Regions from separate parts of the Homo sapiens genome. Here regions 1, 2 and 4 are each linked to region 3. Evidence: promoter capture Hi-C in 16 types of primary human blood cells and fetal thymus (Javierre and others, 2016). All regions are on one chromosome and are shown on one strand. The core of a region is centred on a gene start or on the middle of the fragment in contact, and the rest is flanking DNA. Distances in the headings are between cores, read along the strand shown.

What was found. Contacts are between HindIII fragments. The CHiCAGO score rates a contact against its expected background, and 5 or more counts as called.
Region 1: a contact is called between a fragment that was not itself captured here and the fragment with the promoter of CAPN7 in region 3, in 1 of 17 cell types (total B cells). The highest score is 5.0, in total B cells.
Region 2: a fragment that was not itself captured here is called in contact with the fragment with the promoter of CAPN7 in region 3 in 1 of 17 cell types (M0 macrophages); the score reaches 5.0 in M0 macrophages.
Region 4: a contact is called between a fragment that was not itself captured here and the fragment with the promoter of CAPN7 in region 3, in 1 of 17 cell types (M1 macrophages). The highest score is 5.5, in M1 macrophages.

What each region holds. Positions count from the first base shown.
Region 1 is chr3:16,183,061-16,186,632 of GRCh38, reverse strand. The region is part of intron 1 of GALNT15 (polypeptide N-acetylgalactosaminyltransferase 15); the gene reads right to left. Among named protein-coding and RNA genes, the nearest start is that of GALNT15, 10 kb to the right of the region's middle. The HindIII fragment of the contact is 3,044 bases long and covers 1-3,032 here.
Region 2 is chr3:15,761,127-15,764,671 of GRCh38, reverse strand. All of the region lies in intron 3 of ANKRD28 (ankyrin repeat domain 28), which reads left to right. LOC101927647 (a long non-coding RNA gene) reads right to left here. Exons shown (of 2, transcript XR_001740422.2): 2 at 2,486-3,545. Among named protein-coding and RNA genes, the nearest start is that of ANKRD28, 35 kb to the left of the region's middle. The HindIII fragment of the contact is 928 bases long and covers 1,294-2,221 here.
Region 3 is chr3:15,204,996-15,208,677 of GRCh38, reverse strand. CAPN7 (calpain 7) reads right to left here and starts at 2,432. Exons shown (of 21, transcript NM_014296.3): 1 at 2,081-2,432. The coding sequence starts at 2,182. It also overlaps the pseudogene COL6A4P1. RefSeq lists a silencer at 2,207-2,726. The HindIII fragment of the contact is 5,244 bases long and covers 1-3,682 here.
Region 4 is chr3:15,777,137-15,781,070 of GRCh38, reverse strand. All of the region lies in intron 2 of ANKRD28 (ankyrin repeat domain 28), which reads left to right. Among named protein-coding and RNA genes, the nearest start is that of ANKRD28, 19 kb to the left of the region's middle. The HindIII fragment of the contact is 792 bases long and covers 1,078-1,869 here.

The sequences.
Region 1 (3,572 bases), core at 261-2,760, 980 kb before region 3:
AGTCTATATCAGTACTTCATTTCTTTTTACTGCCTAATATTTCATTGTTTGAATATACCACATTTTGTTTGTCCATTCATCAGCTGATGGACATTTGGATTGCTCCTATTTTGACTTATATTATGACTAATGCCACTATGAATATTCATGTATAAGTTTTCATGTGAACATGTTTTTAATTTTCTTGAGTATATACCTAGGACTGGTATTACTGGCCATATGATAGCTCCATGTTTAACATGTTGGGGAACTGCCAAACTGTTTTCCAAAGCAGTTGCACCATTTTACAATCCCACCAGCAATGTGTGAGGGTTCCAATTTCTCCACATCCTTGTCAGCACTTGCACTGTCTTTTACTTCAGCCATCCTAGTGGGGGTAAAATGTCATCTCATTGTGGTTTTGATTTGTATTTTCCTACTGACTAATGATTTGAACATCTTTTCGTGTGCTATTGACCATTTTTATGTCTTCTTTGAAGAAATGTCTATTCAAATCCTTTGCCCATTTTAAAATGGAGTGTTTTGTTGTTTAATTGTTGGGTTGTAAGGGTTCTTTTTGTATTTTGGATACAAATCTCTTATGCAATATAGGACTTACAAACATTTTCTTCTACTCTTGGATTGTCTTTTCACTTTCTTGATGACATCTTTTGAAGCACCAAAGTTTTAAAAATATCTATTTTTTAAAATCTACTAAGTTTTGATAAGGTGCGTTATACAGCACTAGATCATGGACACACTTTCCCATTTTTAAGATGAGGAAACTAGAGCCCAGAGAGCTTAAATGACCTGTTTAAAGTTACACGGCAAATAGCTGATAGTATATTGCTATAATCTATCATCTATCTATCTATCTATCTATCTATCTATCTATCTATCTATCTGTCTGTCTATCACCATCTTGGACTACAGTGCGAGCAGAATGTTCTGGATTCAGAGTCATAAAGGGACAATGATGGAAGGTTATTTGAAAAACATGCGATCCATCAGTTCCTCCACACATTCTGCACTGTCTACGCTGATTCCTTAAGGTCTTCAAAAGGCAACTTACTTGACCCCTCAGTCTTGGCTGCCTTACAAATGTGCTTACAGGGAGTCGTGCTTGTCATCGTGCTCTCAGCTTTCATCAGGGAACAATGCAAGAATCACTTTTAGGAAACCTGCTCTCCATTACCGAGGGAACTTATTGAGGATGTTGTCCCCCTGTCACTTGTTATCTCCACTTTGATGCTTTGGAAGAAAAGTCCTTGCAGATATAAGTGCCACAAAATACTTTCCTTCATCTGAGCAACAGTGTGCTTCCTCCTCATGAAGAATACAAATAAGAATATCGTCTTTTTTTATTTTTCAGTGTGGCTGCCAGGAAGCTCAGAGTAAGGAAACAGGATATTTATTCATTGAGGAGGCTCTAGACAGGACTGCCTATCTTCATTCTGATTTTCTCTTTAATCTTCACCTTCCATCTCTCTATCAAGTCATTTAACAGATATTTATTGACAGCCTATTATGTGTTAGGACTGAAAGATGAATGAAATAGACATGATGCCTGACCACAATCTGTGGTGCCCCTGCCCATATCCTCTTGGGCCATCTCATTATGATACAGGACGGCCCAACTTCTAATGGCCCTAGGGCTTTCTCTGGCTGACCAGTGTGATTTCCCCAGTCAGAGCATCCCTGAAGAGCTGGAAAATTAACCCCTACCCCACCCCAGTGAGCTGTGCTCAGCCAGTGATTGAAAAGAGTTGGTTTATTAAACACCCAGCACCCTCACCCCTAAGGGCAGAGGGTAGGAAGCGCTGAGATGCATGCATGTTCTACACTGTCTCCAAGGGCTGAGCTCCAGCTGCCCACAGAGGTAGCTGCCTTGAACACATGCCTCTCTCAGGCATCTCTGCTCCGCTTTCCTGAGCCCCTACCCGTGCTTCTTGGGATAACCGGCAAAATGAAGCCTTCTTTCAGGATCTTCTTTAGGGGAAACCTAAACTAAGATAGCCCCTAATAGCATGGAGTTTATGTCCTATTAAACATAACCAAATCATTATTCAGCAGCTGTAGTGAGACGTTCTGGATGTAGGGACGTGAAATCAAAGCCAAGACCTGAAGGGTGGGTAGGACACAGCCCAGAGAGAGAGTGCAGGTGGGGAATGAATGACATGCCTGGCAGGTGTCACAGCCTCTGCTAAGGCCCAGAGGTGGGAAAGGGCTGGCATGTACCAGGAACTGAAGGAAAGACATTCATAGCATTGCTGAGCCAACCAATGAGGCAGAGCATGGCAAAGGCTCTTGAACATCATAAAGCAAGGCCCCAAGTGACTAGGGACTTATGCAGAGGATCCAGGAAGAAATGTATGTTTTTATTGTTAAATAATGAGGCTAACTTCTCTGCTTCAACGAAATATCCGGTGAATATTTTACTATCTCGGTTTGTATGTGTCACTCAAGTGTCCAAAACCCCACCCCTGACCTCCTTTGTTCATCCTTTGAGTGGGAGCAGCGGGACAGGAACAACCAAGGGCTTTGGACTCAAATCAACCTGGGCTTAATCCCTAATTAGCCAACACAGGGATGTTGATACCTTTCTCCAGCCCAGGGGTGTGTCCTGGATTGAAAGGGATAATCTTAGCCTAAGAGAGCTGTTCTGCAGGCTAGCTTTATATCTTCACACTCCAAGATCAGAGGAGTCTGGTGTCTTGTGTTTACATACAGATGCACACCCTCTTTTCCTGCAGCTCCAGGATCCCCTGTGAACTTGGAAAAATGCATTTGGATGATGGCTCTGAAGAGAATGAGTCACAGCATTGCACCAGATGGCCTGGCTGTAGTACTGACGCTCTTCCCTCCCTCCCCTTGCCTGGCCAGAGTAGAAAGGTTTCTGCCAGGTTTCCTAAAGCTGTTTTGGGGATACTGACTCCCAGTTCCTATCAAATCAGTGGAGGCGCCCCACTCGGATAGGCTTCTCTATCTCAGCCCTGATCCCACTGATGTACCAGCCTGTTTGCTTGTCTGCATCCCCCAGTGCACCCCAAGCTTCTTGGGGTTGGGGCTGGGTATTGCTTACCTTCTTACTTCTGATAGTTGTTCAATAGCTATTTGTTCACTGAAGGAAGAAAGACACTGAACTTGTTCTCAGGAAGTGTGTAAGTTGGTTGTCAAGATTAACAGGGGAGTAATCCCACAGAGCCAAGTTCCTCCATTGCAAGAAAATCCTAGCTTGCCTGTAATTGGTGGCACTTATCTTGGGAACACCATACCAACTTCTAGGCCAGGCCTGAGGCTGCTAGGGCTGGGACACAGCCTGGAGCTGAGGCCTTAGAAGAATGGATGAAGAAGCTTGCAGACAAGAGAGATGGGAGGAAAGGGCTGGAGTCTGCAGTGGAGGCTGATTCTGCCAGCCTGTCATTCTCCATCAGTGGACAGACGTCACAAGGTACATGCCATCCCCTTCTCTTTGTGCAGGTTCTCCAAACTCTCACAGCTCACTTCTGGAGGGGTTCAGGGGATCCTTGGCTTGCTCTGATCCTGGCATCTACCTCTGAACCAGAGACAGGCACACACTGGGAGTCACTGGT
Region 2 (3,545 bases), core at 508-3,007, 560 kb before region 3:
AGAAACAGTTTAGGACTGGATAAGAAGTCTACTGCTGCATTTTTTATTTTAACACAGAATTCTGATTATTTTTGTTTTGTCATAAATATTATTTTATATGATTCCACGTGGAGGGTTTGTTTTTTTTTTTCATTTTTTATTTTTACACCCAGGAGAAACTTTTCAAATGCTCAAAGTTGACTTAATCCCTTCCTTTTAAAAGTGAATGTTTGCAACAAGGATTTTTAGTTACTTGTAGAAGGTTGACTTCCTGGTTTCTGTAAGTATGATGGTCAAATGAGTCTTATCATGAGCATGATAGTATCTAGATGTCAGCTGTGAAATAAGCATTTGAGAGAATGCTTAGTTTCTTCTGAATAATCCAAGTACAAATCATGTGTAAAATTAACCATGATACTTGTATAAAAAGCTATTTGAACTTACCTTTAAAAAATACTTTTTTTATTTTTCTTTGAGACAGAATCTCGCTCTGTCGCCCAGGCTGGAGTGCAGTGGCACAATCTCAGCTCAGTGCAACTTCCCGGGTTCAAGCGATTCACCTGCCTCAGCCTCCCGAGTAGCTGGGACTGCAGGTGTGTGGCACCAGGCCTGGCTAATTTTTGTATTTTTAGTAAGAGATGGGGTTTCACCATGTTGGCCAGGCTGGTCTTGAACTCCTGGTCTCAGGTGATTTGCCTGCCTCAGCCTCCGAAAGTGCTGAGATTACAAGTGTGAGGCACTGTGCCCAGCCAAAAAGTACTTTTAATGTTTTATCAGTGTAAAGAGGTAATATAGCTCATGTAGCTATTTTTCAAAGGAAAAATACAATTTTGGATGAATTCAATTGTTCTCAGTTCTCAATAAAAAAAAATTAAGTTTTTACATTGGCCTTAGAGCTGTACATTATCTCCCCACCCCAGATTTCTTCTGACTTGAATTCCTGCTACTCTCTTTTTGTTTGCTCTGCTCTAACCCTACTGGCTGCCTTCTACCTCTGGTTCTTCGCACTGCTGTTTCCTTAGCCTTAAACCTTCTTCAGCCGCTTACACCATGAACCTTTTCATGTCCTTGCTCAGATGTCGCATCATCAACAAGATCTTCCTTGGTCACTACCACTACCACCTAATCCCCCTCGCCTGTGTTATCTTTTCTCCTAGTGTTTATTGTTACCTGACATCCTTTTTAAATTACTTGTTTACTGTCGTTTTATCTCCTCCAGAATGTAAACTCCAAGAAGGCAGGCAGTTAGTCTACTTTGCCTTCCTAGCATATTTATTTAAAGTGCCTGGGATGGTGATTATAGCAATATAAGCTTAGACTGTGTCTCCTTTTCAGAAATTTGTTTACATTTTGGTTTGTTTCTCAAGTCTTTAATGGAAATGAGAATGGGAGAGGTGGGGATGGGTAGAAGTTAAGGGTTGAAGGGTATCAGGTAAGTGGAAAGGGAAAGAAGGCGAATGATTTGTCTTTGAGTGCAACTCAGGGTCTTAGACTTTTTTCTCTTTAGACTTACCAGTTAGGCTCTAATTTAGGAAAAATAAAACAAAAACTTACATGGGTTTGGAGTAAAATTAGCTGGAGTAAAATCCAAGGCTAGATTTCTATTGAACTAGAACCTCAGCTTTCTGCTTATAAACAAAAAAAATAAAGAAATAAACCAGGCTTTGTGTTGCCATGAGAGACACTACAGATAGTGTGAATGTCACAAGCTCTTTTGCCAGACAGATTTGGATACAGTCCTGGCCTTACCTCTTAGCACCTCCATGATCTTTTGAAGTTTATTTGCTCTCTGAGCCTCAACTTCCTCATCTAAAAAAATGGGAATAATATAAAATTTATAGGCTTAAAGAAGCAAATGAGATTATGTCATTAAGATACCTAGAAAAGTCCCTGGCATATAGTATTCAAAATTATGGCTATTTTTTTTTAAGGAGCATTTCTATTTTTTCCTTCACTTTTTTGGTTCTGCCAAGTAAATAAATTCCTTGATATCAGGAATTATCTTCTCTGTGACTTTTAGATATGCTTTCTTAAAAATTCTCCGCTGTCAGTTTTGAAGTCCAGTTATTACGTTCTGAAATGATAAAGAGGAAGGAATGACTTACCTACTGGGGGAAAATGAAAAATAATTTATTTCCACAATCTAGAAAGACAAAGGTTGAAAAAAAATAGACTCTATATACTCTGGAGAAGTGTATTTATATGTTTTAAATTCTACAATCAAGAAACAGCCTTTAAAGCTTTAATATGATATAAGTACCTTCCTGAACAGGGTAGGTATTTGCTCCCCTGAGGAAATAGTAAGGGCTCCTGTAATTTATGGATAACAGAGCTCTAACAAAAAGATAGGTAGTAATCAGGATGTGTATTTAACTTACGAAAGTTGACACTATAGAGGATAACTCCCATAGCCTTTTATAAAAATATCCTTTCACATAAATGAGGAAGGAACCAGGAGAGTTTTTTTTTTTTTGTTTTGTTTTTTTTTTTTTTTTTTTTTTTTTAAAGACATAGTCTTGCTCTGTTACCCAGGCTGGAGGGCAGTGGCACCATCTCTCGGTTTACTGCAACCTCCACCTACCAGGTTCAAATGATTCTCCTGCCTCAGCCTCCTGAGTAGCTGGGATTACAGGCATGCATCACCAGGCCCAACTAATTTTTGTATTTTTAGTAGAGATGGGGTTTCACCATGTTGGCCAGGCTGGTCTCGAACTCCTGACCCCAGGTGATCCACCCACCACGGCCTCCCAAAGTGCTGGGATTACAGCTGTGAGCCACCATGCCCAGCCCAGGAGAGATTTTGAAATCTGAACCAGAAACCTGATCAGGAAGGAATTTTGATTGGTGGATATTTCTTCAGTTCATTCATGTTATATCCATTTTAAATTCCTATTAACTCTTTAAATTGAAAGTTGATTAGGACAGTTTTACAGAAGATATACTACACATTTTAGAAGTCAAGTATAAGCTAACCAGTGAATTCTTACTTTTATATTGGAAATAGATTTCCAGAATAGCAGGGTAGTAAAAGACTAATCGTATCCAAATTTTAGTTCAGAATAAATATCAGAAGAATAGTCTTCAGACAATATATAGTATATAGACTCATAAGGTTCTGTATAGATGCTCCAGGAGTTCTGCTTAAATTTGGTTTGAATGCCATGGTTGCTGAGGCCCAAGTTAAACTGACTGATTTCTATAACCCTAATTTTAAATTCTGGATCCATCAAAACAGCCTTTTAATGAATTATGGTAAGTTGAGTTATAAATTAGAATTGAAACTAGATATTTGATCTGATCAATTCTCTAGGTAAAGATGAGAAAAAAATACATGAAGAGAAATATAGGCAACAAAATTAGGCTAATTTGTTTATAGTTAGTAATGAAAATTTAGTGTAGGTGTTTACACTTCATGTTAATTACCAACACCACATTTTAGTAGCAGGTAGGTATAATCTTAAGTAAATTAAGCAATATGAAATAATGCTTATTTGTATAAAAGTCGTGTAAGATTGCATTAAAGTCATATGTTTTCATAAGAACATACAATAGTCAGTTACTGTAAT
Region 3 (3,682 bases), core at 1,183-3,682:
ATGAACTACATCGTTACTTATGATGTTGAAAAAACAAAATCAACTGAATGCCCAAGAGTCTGTAAATTAATTATAGTACACTGGACAGGCACAGAGGCTCACGCCTGTAATTCCAGCATTTTGGGAGACTGAGGCAGGAAGATCGCTTGACCCAGGAGTTCGAAACCAGCCTGGGCAACACAGCGAGACTCCATTTCTACACAAAAAAAAAAAAAAAAAAAAAATTAGCCAAGTGTGGTTGTGTCTACCTGTAGTCCCACCAATTGGGAGACTGAGGCAGGAGGATTGCTTGAGCTTTGCAGTTTGAGGCTGCAATGAGCTATTATTAGTGGGCCACGGCACTCCAGGCTGAGTGACAGGGCAAGACGCTGTCTCTTAAAAAAAAAAATATGGTACACCCACATAATGAACTACTGTGCAGCTATTACTAAAAACAGTATAAACCAGTTTGTAAAAAAAAAAAAAAAGCATATACACATACGCATAAAAAAACACAAAAATATAGTCACACACCACATAACATTTCAGTCAACAACAGACTGAATATATGATAGTGGTCCCCTAAGATTATAATGGAGTTGAAAAATTCCTATTGCCTGGTCATGTCATAGCCATCATAATGTCATAGCACAACACTTTACTCGCATGTTTGTGGTGATGCTGATGTAAACAAACCTACTGGGGTGCCAGTGGTGTAAAAGTCTACCACACACAATAATGTAGAGTACATAATACTTGATAATCAACAACTATGTTACTGGTTTATGTATTTACTATGCTATACTATGTACTGTTAGTATACTCCTTTTATAAAAAAAAGTTAACTATAAAACAGTCTCTGACATGTCCTTCAGGAGATATTTCAAGAGACATTGTTATCATAGGAGACGACAGTTTCATTCCTGTTATTGCTCCTGAAGACCTCCCAGTGGGACAAGATTGGAGGTGGAAGACAGTAATATTGATGATCCTGACGAGGTGTAGGCCTAGGCTAACGTGTGCCTTAGTTTTTAACTAAAGAATAAAAAAAAAAAAAGAAACAAAAAAACTTACCAAATAAAGATATAAAGAAAATGTTTGTGTAACTGCACAATAAGTTCGTTTTAAGCTATTACAAAAGAGTTAAAAAGTTAAGAAAATTTAGAAGTTTATAAAGTAAAAGGGTTACCGTAAGCTAAGGTTAGTTTATTACTGAAGAAAGATTAAAAAAATTTAGCGTAGCCTAAGGGTACACTGCTTATAAAGTCTACAAGAGTAGAGCAGTGAATGTCCCAGGCCTTCACATTCACTCACCACTACTCACCAACTCAGAGCAACTTCCAGTCCTGCAAGCTCCTTTTGTGGGTAAGTGCCCCACACTGGTGTAGTATTTTTTTTTTATCTTTTATGCTGCATGTTTACTGTACCTTTTCTATGTTTAGATGCACAAATACTTACCACTGCATGTAACTGCACACACCACTGAGTACAGCAACACGCTGCGCAGGCCTGTAACCTAGGAGCAACAGGCCATGCCATACAGCTTAGGTGTGGAACAGGCTGTACCATTCAGGCTTGTGTAAGCGCTTTCTACGGTGTTCGCACAACAACAAAATGGCCTAAGAACACATTTCTCAGAAAATATCACATCGCTAAGGACGCATGACTGTATGTCAAATGCTATGACAGGAGATGGTTTTTATTCTTTTTAAGTTTATTTAACGAGCATGCATTATTTTGATATATATCACAGGCCATTTCCCGCTAGCTGTAAATCAGAGTCAAGTGACAGCAAGAATTGGCTACTAACTACCCATATCTAACACCTGCCCCCCAAAGCGGCTCAACGGTGGGCATTTGCCAGTCAGGACTACAGGTGGAGGAGCGGCGGCTGCAAGCCGCGACCCAGCCTCCCCGCAGCCTCAGCGTCGGCCTCTGCACTCGGGCTTGCCGCTCCCAACAAGAGGAGGGCCGGGAGGCGGACGAGGGAAAAGCAAAGCCGGGGCCGCTAGCCTCCGCACCCGGATCCCGCCCCTCGGCCGCAGGCCCGGGCCGCACTCCGACTGAGCAACTCCGACCGAAGCGCCGGGCCCGGCCCTACCTTGTAATAAAACACCGCCTCGGAGTAGCGGCCTTCGTGGTCGCGCTGAACCGCCAGACGGGCGAACTGCACAGCGTCCCGCTCCAGTGCTGTGGCGTCCATGGCGCAGTGGCCCCGCGCCGGGGCAGGGAAGGAGGCCCTGACGCAGGACGGCTCTTCGCGGACTGCGGCGGCCCGGCGGCGGCGAGGACTCGGGAGCGCCGCGGAAGGAGCGGCAAAGTTTACTTTGGACGGTGGAGGAGAGCTCGCCTTCCCGTTGCCGGGCTGGGGTCCACCGCGAAGCCGCGCCCCTCAGCCCAGACCCGGCTTGTAGCCCACCCGGCCGCCCCACTTCGCGGCCCCAGCGGCCCTCGCCCCGCCCACCAGCCGCCCGACGCAGGCGCAGCCTGGCCCTCACGAGCTCCTTAGAAGCTGGGGCCGCCGAGGCCAGGCTCGCGGGACTGCGCGGGCTGTGGGCGGGGCCGGGCCCACGCAGGAGCCGGGCCGCGGGGGCGGGGCAAAAAGGCCTGCCGCTGTGCACGTGACCGTCGCGGCGCCCGGGATTGAGCAGCTGAGGGCAGGTGCCACGTCCGAGCTGCCCACACACCGCCTTATGCGTGGCGGTGGCGGTGCAGGGCGAGGCTGTTTTCGTCGACAGTGGGCAGTAGAGGGGTACGCGCCTTACAGATCCTTTCCTCTGTTAAGTGTAAGGGATGGGAGTAAAGAGCTAAGGAAGAATGCCTCCCACCAGCATCTGACACATTAAAAAAATTACCGTGAGGACAGAGGTTCTTTAGAGTCACTCTTCGCTAACATTTATTTTCATTTGTTTTCCACAAGCTGAATCATGACCCTATAGCCCCCCACTGTACACCAAGGTCGTATTGATTGAATTGTTAACAAACAAGGTAATGTATTTCCACTTGTACTTACCCTTAGGTTAACTTGATGCTGTTGTAATTAAATACTTAATTAGGTGATTATTTGATTTATGTCTTCTCTCCCCTAAAGGTCTGAAGTCAGCAGTAATAAAAATGAATTAGTGATGGGCACCACCAAATTCATGCTGAGTCAAAGAAGTAAGAATTGAGTACATAATGTATAATTCCATCTATAAGAAACACTAGAAAACACTACGATGTTAGAAAGCAGATCAGTGGTTGGGAAGGGGATACAAAGGAATCTTTTCGGATGATGAGAATGTTTTATATCTCAATGGTGGTGTAAAAATATATACGTTTGTCAAAACTTATCAAACTACATTTTAAGTGTGTACTTTTAATTTTTTAATTATACTCTAAATTTTTTTTCAGTCATTTGGCCTGCATTTAAAATGGGACTCTAATTTCTTAGTTTAAGTGTATTTCTTCACATTTAGTGAAGTTCTTAATAACAACGGTCTCATCAGGCTGTTATAAAGACACACAGAATTTGATTTTGTGCCTGGCCCAAAGATGGCTCTCAAAGGTAGCAACTACAGTTTTATAGCTGAAGCAGGGATGCTTCCTGTCTTTACCACTTTGATCCCAGCGTTGAGCGCAAGCCTTGTTCCAGAGCAGGTGTTCAACAAATATTTTAAAATGTTGAATGAGTCAACTCCACTACTTAAATATATCTAATGTG
Region 4 (3,934 bases), core at 224-2,723, 570 kb before region 3:
GCAGTCCCATTTGCCAGTTTTTGTTTTTGTTGCTTGTGCTTTCAGGTCATATCCAAAAAAATATTGCCCAGACCAGTATTGTGGTGCTTCCCCGCCTTGTTTATAGTTTTATAATTTCAGGTCTTATATTTAAGTCTTTAATGTATTTTGAGCTGATTTTTATATATGGTATGAGATAAGGATCCAGTTTCATTCTTCTGCATCTGGATATCCAGTTTTCCTAACATCTTTTATTGAAGAGGCTGTTCTTTCCACATTATGTGTTCTTGGCACCTTTGTCAAAAATCAAGTGACCATAAATGAGTGAATTTATTTCTGGGCTTTCTGTCCTGTTCCATTGGTCACTGTGTCTGTTTTTATGCCAATACTATGCTGTCTTGATTACAGTAGCTTTATAATATATTTTGAAATCAGCAGTGTGATGCCTCCAGCTTTGTTTTTTTCGCTGGTTATTGTTTTTAACTATTCATGGTCTTTTATTGTTTCATATGAATTTAAGGGTTGTTTTTTCTATTTTCTGTGAAAAATTACATTGGAATTTTGATAGGGATTGCACTGAATTTGTGGATTGCTTTGGATAATATGGACATTTTAACAATATTAATTTTTTAGTTCATGAACACAGTATATCTTCTCATTTATTTGTGTTTTCTTCAATTTGTTTTCATTAATGTTTTATAGTTTTTAGTATACAGATCTTTTACCTGTTTGGTTAAATTTTCACCTAAATATGTTACTTTTTTTTGTTGTTGCTATTATAAATGGGATTGTTTTCTTAATTTCCTTTTTAGATAGTTTGTTGTTAGTATACAGAAAGGCTACTGATTTTTTTTGTATGTTGATTTTGTATCTTGCAACTTAATTCATTTGTCAGTTTCAGTCATTTTTTGGTGTCTCTTTAGGGATTTCTCTGTGTAAGATCATGTCTGCAAATAAAATTTCATTTCTTTCTTTTTTATTAGGATGCCTTTTACTTCTTTCTCTTGCCTAATTGTTCTGGCTAGGACTTGCAGCACTATGGTGGATAGGAGTGGTGAGGGTGGGCAGCATTCTTGTCCCTCGTCTTAGAAGAAAGCTTTCAACTTTGTACGTTAAGTGTGATGTTAGCTGTGGGCCTGCCATTTTTGGCCTTTACAGGACCTGTTATTGATGTGTAATTTTAGTGTTTTATTATTCTACAAAAAGCAAGTAAGCCTTAGAAATATCTGATTACTGCTAAATTTGTAGAATGGAATAAATTCAGTACTTAGAATAGGATGCTGTCTGTATTTTTATATATTATTATAGAGCAGTGTCTAGATTACAACATGAATTAATAACTAGATTCTAAAATACCTACAGGGAATTTGTCCTGGGGCAAGAACCATGCCTTCCATATTGTAGGATAGTCAGCACTGGAAAGGGATCTTAAAGATTAAGTAGTTAAATCAACTCCGTTACAGATGAGGCAAAACTAAGGCCCTTGGAATTATTTGATTTGGTTGCTTCCATTTGGTCACTTTCCAAGATCTCAAAGATATCTTAACGCAGTTTTCTTTATGTCAAATTTAGTTTTTTGTCCATATTGTCTGCCCTGGTATGTCACCTCTCAATTCTACCTAGTGGCTTAGCATTATAAGTAATTTCTTTTCTCTTGTAGCTATAAGCATATAAGCTCTTTAGTAAATACTTGCTTGTTTAATTTGATAATATTTGGTATGTTGGTTTATTCACTTGTCTAGTAATATGTGCCAGTTACTATGCTGGTTCCTGTGAAGGCAAGTCCAATCATGCATAATTTCTTCTCCCTGCTTTTTAATGTTATTTCCTTATATCAGATTATCAGTTGTACCTGCATTCTCACCCTCTTCCTTTGCCTCGTCTTAAGCTTTCAGGCTGCAGTTTATGGTAGGCAGACTTTTAAGATGGTCCCCTGTATTATTTCTGGTATTGTAAGCATGATAGGGTATTGTATGAGTTTGTTCTCCCTCTGCTATGAAGAACTACCTGAGACTGGGTAATTTATTAAAAAAGAGGTTTAATTGACTCACAGTTCTGCATGGCTGTGGGGGCCTCAGGAAACTTACAATCATGGCAGAAGGCACCTCTTCACAGGGTGACAGGAGAGAGAATGACTGCCAGCAGGGCAAATGCTACATACTTATACAACCATCAGATCTCCTGAGACTCACTTATTATCATGAGAATAGCATGGGGGAACTGCCCCCCATGATTCATTTACCTCCACCTAGTCCCATCCTTGACACGTAGGGATTATTACAATTTAAGATTAAATTTGGGTAGGGATACAGAGCCAAACCATATCAGGTCTCATTCCTGATTAGTTTATGTCATCTGGCAGAGCACAAAGCTGACTCTAGGTAAGTGAGATTATCTAGATGGGTGTGCCCTAATCACATGAACTCTAAATCTGGGTCTAGAGTTAGGAACAAAGAGAGTAGGAGATTAGACGTATGAGAGGGATTTGATGTGAAGGATATTCTCTCTTGCTGGCTTTGAAGATGGAGGGAGCCATATGGTAAGAACTCAGGCATTCTCTGCTAGTGGAGGGTGACCTCTGGCTGACAACTGGGAAAGGAAAATGGAGGTCTTAGAAGGACAAAGAACTGACCATTTCCTGAATGAGCCAAAAAACAGATTTTTTTTCCTTTAGTCAGGTCTCTAGGTGAGAACACAGCCCATCAACACCTTGATTTCAACTTTGTGTAACCCTCAGCAGAGAACCCAGTCACACCATGCCTGAATTACTGCCCTTAAAACTGTGAACTAAAAGATTATTTGTTTTAAGCTGTTGCACTTTTTTAAAATAGCTACTATTTATCATACTCTGGGTATAAAAACAGGGAATAAACAAGATTCCTATCTCCAGAGTTAGAGCCATTGAACATGAAACAAGTCAATTAATATGATGATTGTTACAAGGGAGACGTTCAGAGTGCTATGGACACCTATTAGGCTGATGTAATACCAGCTGGGAGACCACGAAAGGAGCTCCAGAAAAAAGATACTTATGTATGATACGCATTTTTTATTGCTGCATAACAAATTACTAAGTGTTAGAAGCGAATGAATATAAAGAAAACATAGCCCCTGACTTCAGCAAGTTTATGATCTAAAGGTATTTGGTTATATTATGTGTGGGTATTGACGGGGCTAGGGCGGAGAGGGTGTGTGTGTGTGTGTGTGTGTGTGTGTGTGTGTGTGTGTGTGTGTGTGTGTGTAGTTTGGTTTTGGTGATGGGAGCAGTCAACTGTCCAGGTTGCCCCTCTGAAGTCACTGCTCTGACAGACCATAAACAGAAAACTGCAAATGATAACAAACTTACTATTTCATAAGAGAATACTACCATTCTCCATATTTCGGGTACACATGTGTTTTGTTTCGCCCTTTCTGTTTCAAGTTTATTGAAAAGAAGCCTGTTTAGCTTAATTGTACTTGGGCAGCTGACACTTGACTAGTTCAAAAGATAATAAACTCATCATTTAGAACACATGTGTCTTTGTATATGAGAAATAAATAACAGTTACAAATACTGTAGGTCAAGGTTTCATCATTGGTTTGGAAGATAAATATGTACAGTGAGGGTTTGGGGTTTTATTTACACAGAAACTAGATTACTTCCCCCACACCCTAAGATTGCGTTGCACAGATCTCTGGTAATAAAATTTCTACTTTTATTCCTGATTCCGTGTAGAACCAAATTGATGCTTTGGGGAGGGGGCATGGGTAGATAAAGGATAAGTAGTTTTTTCAGTTTTCAGGTGACTTTTTTCTTTTTTTTCTTTTTTTTTTTTTTTTTGAGACGGAGTCTCGCTCTGTCACCTAGGCTGGTACAGTGGCGCAATCTCAGCTCACTGCAAGCTCTACCTCCCAGGTTCATGCCATTCTCCTGCCTCAATCTCCCGAGTAGCTGGGGCTACAGATGCCCACTGCT